2 separate regions of the Homo sapiens genome follow, and region 1 is linked to region 2. Evidence: promoter capture Hi-C in 16 types of primary human blood cells and fetal thymus (Javierre and others, 2016). All regions are on one chromosome and are shown on one strand. The core of a region is centred on a gene start or on the middle of the fragment in contact, and the rest is flanking DNA. Distances in the headings are between cores, read along the strand shown. Region 1 overlaps IGFBP4 (insulin like growth factor binding protein 4). Region 2 holds the start of RAPGEFL1 (Rap guanine nucleotide exchange factor like 1).

What was found. The method cuts DNA at HindIII sites, captures the fragments that hold promoters and counts their contacts. A CHiCAGO score of 5 or more calls a contact.
Region 1: a contact is called between a fragment that was not itself captured here and the fragment with the promoter of RAPGEFL1 in region 2, in 1 of 17 cell types (neutrophils). The highest score is 5.2, in neutrophils.

The regions. Positions count from the first base shown.
Region 1 is chr17:40,445,681-40,448,380 of GRCh38, reverse strand. All of the region lies in intron 1 of IGFBP4 (insulin like growth factor binding protein 4), which reads right to left. Among named protein-coding and RNA genes, the nearest start is that of IGFBP4, 3.6 kb to the right of the region's middle. The HindIII fragment of the contact is 3,027 bases long and covers 1-2,700 here.
Region 2 is chr17:40,176,039-40,178,738 of GRCh38, reverse strand. It overlaps RAPGEFL1 (Rap guanine nucleotide exchange factor like 1), which reads right to left and starts at 1,269. Exons shown (of 15, transcript NM_016339.6): 1 at 358-1,269. The coding sequence starts at 877. RefSeq lists enhancers at 1-140, 141-997, 1,389-1,889, 1,890-2,390 and a silencer at 1,228-1,357. The HindIII fragment of the contact is 3,169 bases long and covers 1-2,351 here.

The DNA.
Region 1 (2,700 bases), core at 172-2,671, 270 kb before region 2:
CGGTCTTTGCTCCAGCAGCAGAGGAAGGGAAGGCGCCAGAGAAGAGGCCACACGGCTTTGGCACCACCGGCTGCAAAGTTTGTGGCGAAAGCCAGAGGATTTCCTCTTTCCTGTTGCCTGATTTTACCCTCACAATTTCTCCCCAACGCCAGCCCCTGGCCCTCGAGAGACACCTAGGCTATGAACTGAGTGGGCCCAGCCATCCCGACCAGAAGTTTCAGCTGTGATCCAGAGGGTCACCCACCTGTCCTGCTAGAAAGGTCTTTTCCCTCTTCCCCTAGACTCTAGCTGGAGAAGCCAAGACCGCTGGTGCTGGGTACCAGGCCCTTTCTCTGAGGTCTGGCTCAAGGGGTATCACCCCCAACAGCTGTGTCATGCTGCCAGCCTCAGAATAAAAAACAGATAAGGCAACTTGGCCTGTTCTTCCCATGTTGACAGCAGCAAAATGCACCAAAGGCCACCCCACCCCTCTCAACTCCTCTGAATGTTGCCCCAAATTTGCTCCCTCGTCCTACCGCTTCCCTAAGTCCCAGCATCAGCTTCTTCATCACCATCTTCCTCATCACTTCAATTTATTGAGCTCTTACCCGATGCCAGACGCCCCAACCCTGTGAGGCAGGTCCTGTTGCCCTCCCCACTTTAAAAATTAGGAAAATGAAGTAGACTGGGTGGAAGGGGAGGAGGAGAGACTTAGCTCTGCAGCACTCTGTCTTTAAGTGGAAAGACTCCTGATACCCGAGGCACCAATACTGCTAGCTTTGCCAGTACTAAATTAAAAATGGGAAGCGGCCATGCTCCTCCCTCCCCCTCCCCACAAGGCACAGAATTTCTGGGAATGCCCTTGTTCCCATGACATAACTGGATTCCCAGTACTGAAGTAGGGGGGCAGAATTTGCTGCATTGACTAAAAATTAACCCAGCCTGCCTGTTCCCTAACCCTGTCCCAAAGGGACTGAGAGCCCAGCTTAGGAACTCCCCGTCCAAACGCTGATCTTTCCGCTGTCCACTCCCCCAGATTCCATGAGTCTAGGATCAGTACCAGGATGCAGAGGTGTGGACTTTTGATGCACACGCCCCGCCTCATCTCTGGTGGCCTCAGTGGTGTTAAGCCACAACCTGGCCAGCACATGGAAAGCTGTGACAGGAGGGCAGGCAGGGGTGGCTGGAGACGGAAAGGGGAGATCTGCCCCTGGGGCAAACAGGAGGCAGCTGGACCATAGCAGCCAAAGAAGGGGGCATGCCAAGTGGCCACCCTCCCCCAGCCACCTGCTGACACTCAGCCCCAAAAGGAAAAGGCAGAAAAAATAGACAGGTACCCTCGACCAAGCTATTCGCGGGCCAGTGGGCCCAAACCTTGGGACCTAAAGCAGACAGTGGCCTACTGACTGTGTAAGGCTAAAAAGATGGGTGGGTAGGGGCTTGGTCGTCTTATCTCACCCACAGACCCTGCAGGGCTGCAGCAGAACTCTAGAGAGTGCCTTTTACATGGTGCCATGTGGCCCAGGTCACAGCAAGGGATTACTTCTATGATGACTAGGAGGTGTGGGAGGGCACGGGCATAGCTTGCTCAGTAGGTACCTCCAGGCTTCCCTCGTCTCTCTCCAGATACCTGCATCCATTGCATGGCTGGAGGCTGGAGGACAAGGCAAGGAGGAAAGGGGGAGGGGCATTACAGACCTTGGCTGTGTCATCCAAAGGGGACCTAAAGCCACCCCATTCCAAGACACCGTTTTTTGTTTTTTTTGTTTATTTGTTTTGTTTTCTTTAGACAGAGTCTCGCTCTGTCACCCAGGCTAAAGCGCAGTGGCACAATCTTGGTTCACTGCAACCTCCACCTCCCGGGTTCAAGTGATTCTCCTGCCTCAGCCTCCCAAGTAGCTGGGACTACAGGCACGCACCACCATGCCCAGCTAATTTTTGTATTTTTAGTAGAGACGAGGTTTCACCATGTTGACCAGGCTGGTCTCAAACTCCTGACCTCAGGTGATTCACCCTCCTCAGCCTCCCAAAATACTGAGATTACAGGTGTGAGCCACTGCACCCGGCCTACTTTTTTTTTTTTTTTTTTTTACGAAATAGAGTCGCCCAGGCTGGAGTGCAATCACGTGATCATAGCTCATTGTAACCTTGAACTTCTCATCTCAGACTCCCAAATACCTGGGACTACAGGCATGAGCCACTGCAGTTGCCTATTTTTTTTTTTTTTTTTTTGTAGAGACGGGGGTCTGGCTATATTGCTCAGGCTGGTCTCGAACTCCTGGCCTCAAGCAATCCTCCCAAAGTGCTGGGATTACAAGCATGAACCTCCACACCCAGCCCCTAGATATTCCTGGAGGCCAGTTTGCATTATATCCAGAGGACAACCACAAAATTCTCATGCCATGCCCTCCCCAAACCCCTAGGGGATCTTATTTTCCTCCACTACAGGATGGAGTATTCCTACCCAACCAGAGGATGAGGTATTCCTACCCAGCCCTTTGAGGGCTCTTCTGTCTTGCATTCAAAGTGCTGAGAGAGGAGGAGGCTACCAGCCATCCTTATCTGGTGCCAGATACCCTCTGGCTGGTGGAGGATGGAGATTCAAAGGGAACGTGACTCTGTTGTACCCCGCGAACCCAAGGGCTCGGCCCTTGCTCCCTCCCAGTCTCAGTACCCCTCCTCTACCATTGCCACTGGCATCTCTGCCCCAAGATTAGCGAC
Region 2 (2,700 bases), core at 20-2,519:
GCTCCCATTTTAATGTGTCAGGCCCTAATTTGGGGCCACAGGAGGAGGTATTCAACATCAGGGACCCATGGGAGTCAGTGGCTCCAATGCCCAGGGGAAAGGAAGGGTGGCTGAAGGAGAGTAAGAGGCTCAGCTGCTTCTCCAGACGAGGGTGAGGCTGCTGTAGGGAGGAAGGTGAGTACTGCTCTCCTCTTCCGCGGGAGGGTCTGTACCTCCGCTAGGCCCCTAGCCGGCTTCCGCGGACCACTCAACCCTATAACCAAGCCCCGGCACGGCGCCACCCCTACGCTCCAAGGGCAAGGAAGAGGAGCCGGGGCCAGCCCCTGCTCTGGGTGTTCGAGCCCACCGGCTCCTTACCTGAGGCGGCGCTGTCCCTGGTAGCCCCTCCAGCAAGCCGCTCCAGAACCCGGTTCAGAAGATGCTCGGGCCGCTCGGGGGCGCCCAGAGGGGCCCAGGGCGGCGAAGTCAAGGGCTCGCCTGGGGACAGCTCGTCAGATGAGTAGGAGGAAGGGGAGCGCAGGGGCCCCCCTCCCCCGAGAGGCCCGGGCCCCGGCACCTCCTCCAGCTGCAGCCAGCAGGGCCCCCCGCTGCCCGGCTCCTCCGCGACCCCCGCCGGCTCTCCTCCTTCCTCCTCAGGGGGCGGCTCCAGCCCCGGCTCGGCGGGGGGCTCCCGGAGGAAAGCGGGGAGCAGCAGGCGAGACACGCTCTGACGCCGCTGCAACGACCGCTGTCCCCCGGCTGGACCGCCGCCCCCGCCGGGTCCCCCACCCCCTCCAGGCCCACCGCAGCTCCCCAGACCCCCGCCGGGACCTCCCGCCACCGTTCGGCCCGCCAGCTGCGACGTCTGCTTCTTCAGAAATTTCTCCAGCGGCTTCATGCCCCCCCCCGCCCCTCTCCTAGGGGTCGCCGGGGGACCCAGGTATCCCAGGCGCGGGCGGGGGGGGCGGCGAAGACACGATGCTCAGAGCTGGAGGAGCAGAGTAGAGGGCCGTGCCAGGCGCCAGACTGGGGGCCAGAGGGGCCGAGCCTCGCTGGCCAGAGTCCAGTGGCCAGTAGCCGGGGGAGGTGCCAGAGGAAAGGAGTGCTCGCTCTCAGCAACCCCCCATGCCGGCTGCAGCCGGCACGCGGCCCGAAGAGTGGGCAGGCTGCGGGGCCGGTGCGCCCGGCTCTGCGCTGCGGCGGCAGAGGCAGCGGGCGGAGCGCAAGGCTGAGAGGACGCGGCGGCGGCGGCGGCGGCGGCTGCGCTCCTGGCCGTGAAGAGGGGGAAGGTGGCAGAACCGAGACCGCGCCCCCTCCTCCAGTCCCCGCCCAGTCCCCGCCCCTACCCTTCCTCGGCTCGCCCCCGCGCCGCACGAGGCTTGAACTCGCGCGCTGGGGTTGACCGCGAGGGAAACAGTAAGGGACTTGGGTTCTAAGCAGAAGAAATTAAGGGCAAAGGTAAGTCAGAGATTTACCAATGGGGAAGGATTCCTGGCTCAAGGGATAACCGGGTCTCAGCATCATTTCAAAGAGTCAGGACAGGTCTGTGGCCTGGACACCTTCACTCACCTACCTGTGTACCCAAGTCAGGCCTACAGATTGCTGAACCCAAGAGTGTGCACCTTTCTCATACTCACAGAAATATGTGGAGTTTATCTTCCTTCTGTGAGAAGAGCTGGGAAGGCCTCTTGGGTGAATTAGCATTGCCACTGGAGGCGGTGCCCATCTGTCCTCTCTGGTAGGGCACAATAGGTGGTGTGGGCCTGGTCTGTGGGCAGGTACTGGCAGGCAGGTAGGAGCCAGGCAGGGAGCAGCAGGTTGTGGCAGGTCTAGCTGGGGTGAGGAGGGGATAATAGGCAGTGGGGAGGAGACCAGGAGCACAAGGGCACCTGAGCCCAGCTGGCAGCAGAAGGAAGCAGGGCCATGGAGACAGGTGACAAGCCCCAGAACTGCCGACTATCATCAAGCACAGAGCCCAAGTGTACATGGCCATGGAGTGGGAAAAGTGGTGCCAATTAGCACTCCAAGTAATCCTTACTCCTGATGCCCACACCAGGAGCATTCTGTCCTTAAGGATATGCTGCCCCAGAAGGAGTGTGGGGGAGGAGGGGGGTGCATCGTAAAGCCATGCTAAGTGTGAGAACATCCAGGTTAGACTTACAAGGTGTGGGAGTGGCAGCAGGTTCTCGATGGGTTGAGGCTCTCTGGACAATGCCCCACCCCTGTTTACCGAGCACCAACCAGGCAGAGACAGGAATGCTAATGGCTGGGAGTGGTAGTAAAACTGAACAGGGTGTGTATGACATACGTATCAATGTATGTGCATATCTGTTCCCATGTGTGCTAGAGCATGTGTTCACAGAAATAAAGCTTTGCACACCCATCTGTTTGTGGATTTGGAAACAGTAAAAAGAAGACAGCGCACAATTTTGGCTAAGAAGCTGTATTAGAGGTCTGAGTATCAGCTTCCTGTGCTCCCCTTATTGGACACTCCAATATCCCCTGGCTTGAAAGGGGAAAGTGGCTGGAATGGGTTGGAGCTCCCCAGGTAGCATTTTATGAACTGAATAGGAAGAGGGAAGGGCTTCTCTCCCAGCACATGCCACAGTTACCAGATTAAGCCGGTTGCCTTGGTAACCTTCTCTCTGGGCAGGATTTGGGAATTGTTGGTTAGGAAGGGCGAATTGGGGAGTGTGAAGGGTGTAGGGGGTTGAAAATAAA